Linked DNA regions of Homo sapiens: region 1 is linked to region 2. Evidence: promoter capture Hi-C in 16 types of primary human blood cells and fetal thymus (Javierre and others, 2016). All regions are on one chromosome and are shown on one strand. The core of a region is centred on a gene start or on the middle of the fragment in contact, and the rest is flanking DNA. Distances in the headings are between cores, read along the strand shown.

Region 1 (5,925 bases), core at 2,623-5,122, 130 kb after region 2:
TGTAATTTTTTATTGTGTAATCTGCGTAGAATGTTGACTTCAGATTCAGGTGTACAGGAATTTAAATTCAGTGTCTTCCACTTAATACTTGCTATATCCTTGTAAAAGGTGCAGGTTCTATGGGCTTTTGTTTTCACATCTATAAGATGAAAATAATGTCAATTTAATCAGATGATTAGGGGAATTAAAATGACAAATTGTATGTTAAACACCTAGCATAGTGCCTGGCACATAACAAGTATTCAGTAATTACTAAGTTTTATTAGTATTTTGAGAATACATACACGAAGTATGAGTGACGTTCTGTGACTGATAGTTTAGTGTGTTAGAATTGTTATTCCCTTCAGTTGTGACCTCAAGAGGTTATTCATTTATCCCCATGATACTGTGATTGGAGTGTTTTTCGAACTCAACTTTTGAAATTTCTTACATGTTTGTGGCCCATTCTTTTGAAATCCCCAATTCGAGGGCAGATTTTATTTTTTTATGGTAATCAAAATGGCTGCAAGTTAAATTTGAAATCAGTTTTGGGGACAACATTGGAATAAGACTAAATAGCAAGACCACTTTTCTTTTTTTTTTTTTTTTTTTTTTTTGTTAATACGAAGTCTTGCTCTGTTGCCCAGGCTTGAGTGCAGTGATGCGATCTCGGCTCGCTGCTGCAAACTCTGCCTTCTAGGCTGAGACAATTCTTCCACCTCAGCCACCAGAGTAGCTGGGATTACAAGCCTGCGCCACCATGCACGGCTAAATTTTGTATTTTTAGTAGAGAATGGGTTTCTCCATGTTGTCCAGTCTTGTCTTCAACTCCTGAGCTCAAGTGATCTGCCAGCGTCGTCCTCCCAAAGTGCTGGGATTACAGGCATAGCCACCACACTCAGCCCGACTGCTTTTCTTACATTGGATTCTAAAGATGATAGTAGGTGAATATTAAACATAATTTAGCATTACCATGATATTGTTAGATATCGTATTAAAGTTAGTATGTAATCTCCTATGATAACTATTTTGAAAAAGGACTACTATCTCTTCAGTATATAAGTTTATTAAAAACTATTACTTTAGAAGAAGGAAAGGATAAAGAAAAAACCTTCAGTGCTTATTTCTGTCTACTTACATAATTGTATTATTCACTTATATAGTCAATAGTTTACTCCTCTGTTTTCTGAATAAAGTGCATTTTTAAAATTTGTCTCTTCAGCGATCACCAGAATATACCAATTGTCGGTATCTATGCAAACTTTGCTTAATTCACATTGAAAATATCCAGGGGGCTCATAAACATATAAAGGAGAAACGACATAAGAAAAATATTTTGGTAAGTTCTTTTTAAAAAATACTTTTATTTATTTTTCAAGTTGTAAAACCATATTGAATATTTTTTATTTGTGAAACTAAAAATGAAATATTTGTCCAATCTTATATTGGTAACTGAAGTGATAGCTTTGGAAGCAATTGTTGCCTTCCTTATCTGAGATAATCAGGAAGGAACCTTGTTGAGACCGGTTTGCTCATCCTTTAGAATGTTGATTCCTAAGTTTAGAGCTGTTAGGTACAATTAGTCCATCCAACTGATGTTTATTGAGTTCTTGTGTGCTACTTCTAGGCAGTGGTGAATAAGATAGTTGTGGTTCCTGCCCTCAGATTTTCTAAGAATTGATGAGGGCATGCGTTGAATAAAGATTTAAATATAATGAGTCTTGTTAGGGGGGGAAGATTGTGCTAAGGAGGTGTATGAAGATATTTTACTTGATCTAGAACAGGGGAGGTTTCTCTGAGAAAGTGACTTTTGAATGAAGTAGTAGTTTAAATGGCAAAAAGGTGAGTGGCCTAGAAGGGTAAGTGGGAGAGCATTTTACACAAAAAGCAGCATGAATTAAAAGTCTTTAGGCAGGAAAAGGCATGGCATATGAGTAACTTTAAGTCTAGTATGATTGGAACAAAGAGAGCTGGGGGAAAATGATGTGATGTGAAGCTGGAGAAGTGCAGACAATTAAGAAACTTATAAGCTTCGGGAATTTGTAATTTTTCAGTTATTTCTATTGAAATATCCCATAGACATAGATATGAATAGAGGGCTTTTAAAAATGTATTAGTAAATTAGCTATTTAATTTTTTCTTTTTAAAGTTACAACAGCAGTAATAATACTGTGTAACCTCTTATCTCTAGGTCTTAGCTCATGTATCTTCTTTAAGAAATATTCTACCTGACCCTCTCAGCAAGTCTGGGTTGGATACTCCTTCTCTGTGCCCCCATAACAACTTCCACATATTTTGATCAGAAAATCTAACACATTGTATTCTGGCTGTCTACCTTCTCTTCCCTTCTAGACTTCAATATGCAGTGTTCTAGAAGGCATATTTAGTTATTTTTGTTTCTGAGTTCCTTAGGACAGTGTCTGACAACAGTAGGTGCTCAACATAGTTTTCTTGAAAACAACAAATGAACTGAAGCAGATAGAACAGGGACAAGGGAGTAGTTTAGGTGATAATAATTAGGAATTTTCCAGAAATGTCAGAAGATGCCTATCATTAGTTCCAGGAAGCTCGGGCTTGCAAGCAAGAAACCTTTTTTTTTTTTTTTTTGGAGACAGAGTCTCACTCTGTCTTCCAGGCTGGAGTTCAGTGGTGCAATCTTGGCTCACTGTAACCTCTGCCTCCCAGGTTTAAGCGATTACCCTGCCTCAGCCTCCCAGGTAGCTAGGATTACAGGCATACCATGCCTGGCTGATTTTTGTATTTTTAATAGAGACGGGGTTTCACCTGGGCAAGCAAGAAACTTAAAAAGAAAATCATACCTAGGCTGGGTGCAGTGGCTAAGGTCTGTAATCCCAGCACTTTGGGAGGCTGAGGCAGGTGAGTTGCTTGAGCCCAGGAGTTTGAGACCAGCCTGGGCAACGTGGCAAAACCCTGTTTCTACTAAAAATACATAAAAATTAGCTGGGCATGGTGGCATGTGCCTGTAATCCCAGCTTCTTGGGAGGCTGAGGTATAAGAATTGTTTGAACTCATGAGGTGGAGGCTGCAGTGAGCCAAGGTCACACCACTTCACTTTAGTCTGGGCGAGGGAGCGAGACTCTATCACAAAAAAAAGAAAAAGGAAAACTATACCTATACACATTACAGATTGAGTATACCTTATCCTAAATGCTTGGGACCAAAGTATTTTGGATTTTTTCAGATTTTGGAATATTTGCATTATACTTTAATGAGCATTTCCTTTGAGCATCATGTTGGTGTTCTAAAAGCTTCAGATTTTGGAGCATTTCACATTTTGGATTTTCAGATTAGGGATGCTCAGCCCGTATAGGGAAACTTTAGAACATTATAGAAATGAACAAAAAGAAAGCAAACTTGAATGCAGCCATATAGGACGTATACTTTTGGTGAAGTTAGAGTAACAGTGGATTTACTTTTCCCTTGAAATGACAAACAAAAAAAAAATACAGAAATATGAAGCAGTGGTTTTCAGGCGACAGAGTCAATGAATGAAAAACAAATGGCCTGAGCCCAATGTTGGCTCCAGCTTGAGAGTTTCTAGGTTGCACTATAGGGAAGGGAACCCAGTGGACTCTCACAGTTGAAGAGAGAGACCTTAGAGTGCACTAAGTCCAAGATAGCTAAAATTCACAGGACAGTGTAACTAAAATGAGAAAACTGCACAAAAAGAAATCCAGAGAACTGTGGATGATCCTCTTAAAGTATTCAGCACAATGCTGATTGGTGCATGCATATGAAAAAGCTTCCTGAACCCAGGGAAAGAATTGTCAGAGGAAATTAGACCAGTGATTGGTGCTCATACAGGACTTCTTCCTATCCAGACTGGAAAGCCTCGTGCTTCATGGGACACTGGGTAGAGTACTCAGAAGAATCTTGTTTCAGTAGTAGGGATATTTAGCCCTAAACTAAATGTGGTCTGGTCCTACATAAAATATTTTAAAGGCAACATTCAAAATGATAAATGGTTTCCAAGTATTTAATGTCATTACAGAACAAAGCTTAGGAATATTACAGAAATACAAAAATACTCATCACTGAAAAAAGTTCACATAATGTAGCATTTAGTCAAAGATTATCAGGTATGCAAAGAGGCAGGAAAATACAAATCATGATGAAGAGAAAAGTCAGCTATAATAACTGACCTTGAACTGACGCCTTTGTTAGGATTAGCAGAGAAGGACAGTAAGACAGTTAATATAACTGTATTCTTGATGTTTCAGAGATGAAGTAGAGACATGGAAAATATAAAAAAGATATGAACAGGACTATTAGAAACGAAAACTACGACATCTAAGATTAAAACTATATTGGGTAGGAATAATAGTACATCAAACATTGCAAAAGAAAAGGTTAGTGAACTCTTGAAGATAAGCAGTGGAAACCACCAGAGTGAAACACAGAAAGAAAAAATTAAACAAAAAGAAAAAAGTTAATGAGCTCTGGATAATTGATCAATATACATGTACTTGTTCTGTACAAATTTTTCCAGAACACTGAAGAGGAGAAATACTTCCCAGTTCAGTCTGTGAATATGAGGTCCACGTAACTCTGATATTCAAACCAGAGACATATTGCAATAAAGGAAAACTTTATTCTTAACTTGTTGACTCCGACGGGAGAAAAAAAAAGAAAGAAAACTTTAGGCCAAAACTCCTCATGAACATAGATGCAGAAATTCTAAATATAACTTTAGCCAATTGAATCCAACAGCATATTAGAGGAATGAATGTGTCATGATCAAGTGGGGCTTTATTCCAGGAGTGCAGTGTTAGTTTTACATTAAAAAATCCCTCATTGGCCAGGCGCAGTAGCTCAGGCCTGTAATCCTAGCACTTTGGGAGGCTGAGGAGGGCGGATCACCTGAGGTTAGGAGTTCGAGACCAGCCTGGCCAACATGGTGAACCCCGTCTCTACTAAAAATACAAAAATTAGCTGGGCATCGTGGCTCATGCCTGAAATCCCAGCTACTTGGGAGGCTGAACCCAGAAAGTTGAGGTTGCAGTAAGCTCAGATCGTGCCACTGCACTCCAGCCTGGGCAACAGAGCAAGACTTCATCTCAAAAAACAACAAAAACAAAAAAAACCCCGCTCATTGTGATTTACCATGTTAGCAAACAGAGAAAACTATGTGATTATCTCAGTAGATGCTGAAAAAGCGTTTTCAAAAATGCTTTGATAAAAAGTCTAAGCACAGCCAGGTGCGGTGGATCATGCCTGTAATCCCAGCACTTTGGGAGGCTGAGGTAGGCAGATCACCTGAGGTTGGGAATTCGAGACCAGCCTGGCCAATGTGGCGAAACCCCCTCTCCACTAAAAATACGAAAATTAGCCGGGCTTGGTGACCCACACCTGTAATTCCAGCTACTCGAGAGGCTGAGGCAGGAGAATCGCTTGAATCCCAGAGGTAGAGGTTGCAGTGAGCTGAGATGGCGCCACTGCACTCCAGCCTGGGTGGCAGAGTGATACTCTGTCTCAAAAAAAAAAAAAAAAAAAAAGTCTAAGCAAACTAGGAGTAGAAGACGACTTCTATAACATGATAAAGACATCTACAAAGCTGGGTGTGTTAGTCCCAGCTCCTTTGGTTGTTTGAACCTAGGAGTTTGAGATCAGCCTGGGCAATATAATGAGACCCTGTTAAAAAAAATCTACAAAAAACTAACAGTTATCATCATACTTAAGTATGAAAGACTGAATGCTGTCCCCCCAAGATTAGGAAAAAAGACAGGTATGAAAGTAGTGTAGCTGCCATGGAAAAGAGTACGGTGGTTCTTCAACAAATTAAAAATAGAACTACAGTATGATCCAGTAATTTCACTTCTGGGTATACACTTGAAAGAATTGAAAGCAGGGTTTCAAAGAGATATTTATACAACCAGGTTCATGGCAACATTATTCACAATAGCTAGTATGTGGAAGCAATTCAGA
Region 2 (6,105 bases), core at 3,321-5,820:
ACTTTACCACTCTGACCTTCATTTTCTTCCTTTATAAAGGTTTCTATCTCACCAGGTGGTGGGAAGGATGAAATGAGGTGCTGTAGACACGGTCTGACCACAAACTCTGCCTTCCGGCAAGGCTGCTGTCTTCTGGCTCACACCCTCGTAAAAAAACAGAACTAGTGATGGAGGAGGGTGTTTGGCAAGTGGACCAGACGGTGTGACAGCACCAACTGCTTCTCCACAGGGTGTCTTCACTTCCTGAGGCACAATTTTAAAGATAGCAATTCTCCTTGAGCACTGTCTCTCCCAGGAAACAGTGCTTACCTGGAGATTTTGAAGTTTTTAAGGACTGACTTTCATGAAAAGGGCCAAACGGAATTTACAGCAAAACAAGGTCTCCACCCTGCAATATCCGGGCTCTGTTAGGAGCATGCCGGAAGAGTTATTTCAAGGTTCAGAGCACGTTGATGCCCTAGACATCCTGAGGACTTTCAGTTCCTCTCCTGCACTTTGCAATTGTCTGTGGTATTTATGAATCACATTATGTCTGAGTCCAGGAAGAGTCACCCTAGAGCCTTTAGCCACCTTGGGGTCACAGAATGGGAACACACTGACATGGGATGTTACCCCAGAGATCAGCCCATCCAACCCCCGAAGAAAGCATTGTCTGAGCCACTAAAGCATGCCACGTCAGAGTTTCCAGGGCAACGGAAGGGACCACAAGACACAAGAGCTGTGTAGGGAAGGGGTTAGTGGAAGAGGGAAAGGGTCCTGGCTGGGTGCTGAGAGAATTACTCACCTCTGTGTCCCCAGGGGCCAGCACAGTGCCCAGAAGACACTAGAGGGTCAGTGAGTATTTTTCAGATGATCTGAGTGGATCAGGTTGTTAAGAGAGATCCAGACAGTAGTAGACAGGACAAGCCAGGGCTTGAGATGAGACAGGCCTGAGTTTTCAACCCAGCTCTGCCACTGCCTCTCACTGGGACACTCCCAGATAGTAACTTAACCTTTCTCAAGTTTTCTCATGTGTAAAATGAGAAGTGCCAGGGTTGTGAATGTGTGAGAGCATCTAACCCTTGGATAGTCTTAGGTAATGTTCTTTAAGTCTCAGTCTGCTATGATATTGCTAGGAGATCTCGGACAATTCACTTCCACACTGAATTTCACTTCCCACACCTATGAACCAAGGAAAGGGAACTCTCTTATTGAGCACCTAACATATGCACTGGTCACTTTCATGTGCATTATTTCTCTTAGTTCTTACAATTCCATCACACAAATATCTCTATCACCATTTTAAAGTTGAGAGAAAATACTAGGAAGTTAAATAACTTTTCCAATCCACATAGATAATAAGTGACAGATTCTGACCAGCCCCAAAGCTCCACACTGTCTCTGTACTATCACACAAATATCTCTATCACCATTTTAAAGTTGAGAGAAAATACTAGGAAGTTAAATAACTTTTCCAATCCACATAGATAATAAGTGACAGATTCTGACCAGCCCCAAAGCTCCACACTGTCTCTGTACTATCACACAAATATCTCTATCACCATTTTAAAGTTGAGAGAAAATACTAGGAAGTTAAATAACTTTTCCAATCCACATAGATAATAAGTGACAGATTCTGACCAGCCCCAAAGCTCCACATTGTCTCTGTACTTACAAGGGAGGTCAGTGCCATCTTATTTCAGAGCCTAGCTCAATGCCAACTACACAGTGGGCCTTCAACAAAACTTCATTGTTTCACTTTAGGTGAATGTTGTGAAAGTGCCCTAGTGAATATTATCACAGTAAGAGAAATCTGATACAGAAAAATTATCACAGTGAGAGAAATCTGACATAGCTGACTCCATCTTGTGTCTAACTTTACGAGCTGTCTTTCTTCATTCCTGGGCACAGGCCAAGTTAACTATAAGAGGAATTTAGTTTATAGTTTAACTTTAAAACAAAGATGATAACAGCCCCTTCCTAAAACTAACACCCTCCTTGCTCAGGGACTGCAACTGCCTTTGTTAAACTAACAAATTAACCACAAGGTTAGAATTATGGTTCAGGAGTCGTGTAGCTGGAGGTCACATGATTTGTAATCTCCTCAACTCCTCCTATAGGAGGAGTTGTAAAACCTAAAACTGGTGTTTGAGGTATCTTTCAGACCTTTCATTTTGATAGACCAGTTGGTGCCACCTGGACCAGTAACCCATACCAATAAACTGGCTCAACTGGTCTTGTGAGCTCCCCTACCCAGCAACTGACTCAGTGCAAGAAGGTAGCTTTGATCCCCTACGATTTTATCCCTAACCCAACCAATTGGCATTCCCTATTCCCTAGCCCCATCTGCCACCATTCCTTGAGAAACCATAGTCTCCGAATTCTCTGGTGGGGTGGGGGGTGGGGAATGAGGGTGTGGATTTGAGAATTATGTCCTATTTTGCCACTTGGTTGGCCCTGTGATTATTAAACTCTTTCTTTGCTGCAAAACCTGTTGTTCTCAGTGCATTGGTTTTTTTGGGCAGCAAGCAAAATGAACTTGTCAAGTGAATACCATTGTATCTCTAAATAAACTGTGAGTTCCTCAGGGGCAGGGAATAATTGATTTTTGTGTCTCCAATACCTTGCAAAGTGCCTGGCACAAAGTAAAGGCTAGAATGAATGAATGAATGAATGAATATATGGATGAACAGAAAATACATTAATATAATTCCCTGGGTTATAGATAGCACAAATATGTAGGATCTGATAACCTGGCCATCTGAAAATCATTTAGAATTGTGGATCGAGTCACCTAGAAAAAGCAATAATATTTGTAATTGTCATTGGCATATGTCAAGTTGATTTCAGCTCTGTTATGTATGTCATTTGACCGTTACCACTGCCTTAGTCAGAAATCAGGGCAATGATTGATCATCCTACTGCCCGTTTGATAGATGAAAAGCCAGAGACTTGAGAAGTTTTCGTGGCATAGGACACTGTCCTTTCCCACCCAGAGGGCAGCAGCCTCTGCTCATATACCTCCAGGGACAGGAAAATCACTAACTACTGAGATGGCCCACTCAATTTTTGCTGATGCCTGTTTCCCAAAGTAGGCTGAGGATCAAGTTCCATTCTCCAGGTAAGGCCTTTGGAGACCCAGGGGGATTGAGACCTATTACCCTCTCAAGCCAACACTTAGGCTCCAGGAATGCAACCTCTTCCCTGAACAAATGGGGAAACTGAGGTCCTATGGGTGGAGAGTCAACACTTCTATGAATATGGCCTGAGCTAGCTTCTGCACTATGCCATTGTCTCATGATGAACTTGGAGGCAGCTCTGACTCCCGAGTCTTCTGCCTTAGCTTGAGGATGGGGTACATCCCCAGCACTCACCACAGGGCTTGGCACACACCAAGTGCTCAGTAGAGAGTGCCCGAAAGAATGACTAAATACAAAAGGGAACCAAGGGTTGACGCTGGGCTGAGGCTGGGGTTGGGGTGTAGCACCAGGCGAGGGTTAAGTCTGGAGGTTGAGGTTTGGATGTAGATCTAGATATTAATAATATTTGGAGTCAGGATGTGGGAGAAGAGCTGAGGTGGGACTGCAGGCAGGACAGAAGAGGAGGTTGGGGCTGGTGATAGAATAAGGTCTGGGGTCAGTACTGGGGAGTGTGGAAAGTCAGGAATAAGGCTGGTGTTGATATTAGGAAGGGCACCTTGGTGGGATGATGATTGGGGTGGAGTTGGGCTGCCTGTGAATGTTTGAAGATGGAAGTTGCTGTTAGGGGGAGGCTTGATATGTGATTTGGGGTTGGGATGAGGGTGGTGATGGAATGAAGTTTGGGGTGGGGATAGAGTGAGGATTGTTTTGGATTAGAGGAGGGGGAGGTCCGAGCATGGCTCTAAATAATGGTTGGGGTCAGGATGAGGAAATCGAGCTGAGATGGGGTTTCACGGGGTGGTTGATGCTGTGGGCATGAGGACGGTAAGGACTAGAGCTTGCTGCTGATGTTCAGGTGGACACTCGGGTGGGGGCTGAGGCTGGGGTGAAGGCGCTGAGACTGGAGTGGGGTTCAAGGTAGGGTGAGGGCCAGGGACGGTACCTGAGCCACCACATGTAGCTGTGCTCGTAGGGGAAGAAGCTGTGCGGGTCGTCGCAGCAGTACTTGTGGTCGCGGAAGCCGCAGCAGAAGACAGCGGCCGCCTCGCCCCCCGGCCGCGGGCAGCTGAAGCCGCGCACCACCTCCTGCTCTGCGCTCACGTAGCTCGTGCAGGCGCCGCTCATCGCGCCCCGCGCCCAGCCCGCCGCCACCTCGGGCCACCAGACGGCCGGCTAGAGCCCGGCGGGGAAGCGAGGGACCGAGCGAGACGGAGCTGAGCCTGAGAACGGCAGAGACGAAGAGACCCAGGGGCCGAGAGAAGCCGAGACAGAGACAGCAGCGCGGGGCCCCGAGGACCGAGCGGCGGCCAGGTGCCCGGCCCGCGCGGAGGGGTAGGGGCAGGCGGGGCGGGCGGCGGGGGCCGGCGGCGGGAGTGACGGCTGCTGGAACGCGGCAGGAGCCGGAGCGGACGCGGGGAGCTGGGCCGGGAGCCGCGTGCTCGCCTGGCTCTGCCTGCGCTTCCTGCCCCCTCCCCACTGCGCTCCCCCTGCCTGCACGAGGGCGCTGGGTGCGCAACGACAGCACGACGCGGCCAGAGTGGCGGGGCGGGAATTCGAGGCCAGGGCGCGGGCGCCTTACCTGCACCGAGCCGGCGCCGGGAGTCTCGGGGCATTCGGGGCTGGGGCAGACAGACAAGGCACCAGCCGGCGACCACACGGCGGGGTCAGTGAGGAGAGTGAACACAACCTCACCCAACCTCCGCAAAAACCCAGGGGCCCGGGGATGTTCGCATCCGTGTTAAAGGTGAGAGCTGAGGGCCAGAGAGAAGCCATTTCCCGGAGTTCCTAAGCCCACGAGATTTTAACCGGGGGCGGCCTAGTAGGAAGTCCTTGCTCTTTCTGCGGCTTTCATGGTGCCTCTTTTCTAGCGGGCTTTTAGATGTCCTCATCATCTGGAGTCCCTGCTAGTCTCGCTGAGAGCTAGCTCGTGCACGGACAATGTCCACACTCTTCTGTTCATACTGCCTGCCACTGGCCTGGGACAAGGAGCCGAATATGGGTGTGGATGGGCCCAGACGGTAACCTCCTTCCCCACACTGACCAGCAAAGAAAGTCAGCAGACCTGTCCATTTTGAAAAATTACTTCCAGAGAACAAGGGCAGTGTTCTCACTAGCATCAGAGAACCACAGTCTGAAGGGGCTCTCAGTGCCTTGGCTTCCCCCATGTACCCTGTTGCCTTACGCCATCTGGAAGGGCTTCATACAGCACCTTCAGTGCCTTAGCTCTACATTTTTCACAGCAGTGGGTAGGGTAGGAAATAGTTACTGTGGTGCCTCGGGCACCCCCGATTCCTTCGCCCTTGGTTTGGACGTGTGGGGAACGGGCCGTGGGTATCAGGGGATCTGGGCTCCAGCCCAGCTCTACCCCTTCCCTGCTGTTTCTCTCTGAGCTTTGGGTTCCTTGTCCTCACCCAGGCCAGCTCCTCAGATGCTGATTGTGCCGCTGCCCTGACCTGGGTGGGCCCTAGGGCCCCTGAGAGGGATCAGATCTGGGCCTGCCGTTGAGAAACACACAGTCTGATGGAGGAGTCAGACTGACTGACGATCACAGCACAGGGCAGTAAAAAGGGAAATGCAAGGACCTGGACACAGAGGGGCACCATCTGAGGAAGCAGGGGAGGGCTCTGAGGGAGGCGGTGTCCTCAAGAGTCACTGTAAGGTCAAATATGAAAGCTGGAGGGAACTGTTATTATCCTCCAGAACATTCCTCCCCTGAGCTGTGGGTCTGAGCAGACTGGGAGCTGGAGAGCCTACACTAATGAGGGTGCACTTCAGCCTCTTTATCAGATGGAGAGTACAGGGGAGGAATCCTCTGGGAGGGAGAGGCTTCCTGGAGGCCTGGAGATCAGCTGGGAGGAAGAAAGCGCTCTGCCCTGGCTTTTGGCAAAACTAGAAAGCCTCCAACAATTTCCAAAACCCTCTCCCAGCCAAGAATTAATTTGTTCCTCCCAACAGCCCTCTGGGGTGAGCCACGCAGGGGTGAATG

What was found. The method cuts DNA at HindIII sites, captures the fragments that hold promoters and counts their contacts. A CHiCAGO score of 5 or more calls a contact.
Region 1: a fragment that was not itself captured here is called in contact with the fragment with the promoter of SHISAL2A in region 2 in 4 of 17 cell types (non-activated CD4 T cells, total B cells, total CD8 T cells and 1 more); the score reaches 8.1 in non-activated CD4 T cells.

The regions. Positions count from the first base shown.
Region 1 is chr1:52,504,989-52,510,913 of GRCh38, reverse strand. TUT4 (terminal uridylyl transferase 4) reads left to right here. Exons shown (of 30, transcript NM_001009881.3): 4 at 1,202-1,318. Among named protein-coding and RNA genes, the nearest start is that of TUT4, 45 kb to the left of the region's middle. The HindIII fragment of the contact is 256 bases long and covers 3,745-4,000 here.
Region 2 is chr1:52,631,633-52,637,737 of GRCh38, reverse strand. SHISAL2A (shisa like 2A) reads right to left here and starts at 4,570. Exons shown (of 3, transcript NM_001042693.3): 1 at 4,063-4,570. The coding sequence starts at 4,244. It overlaps LOC124904178 (a long non-coding RNA gene), which reads left to right and starts at 4,283. Exons shown (of 2, transcript XR_007066084.1): 1 at 4,283-4,430. RefSeq lists an enhancer at 212-371 and silencers at 4,243-4,292, 4,303-4,492, 4,583-4,692. The HindIII fragment of the contact is 18,193 bases long and covers 1-6,105 here.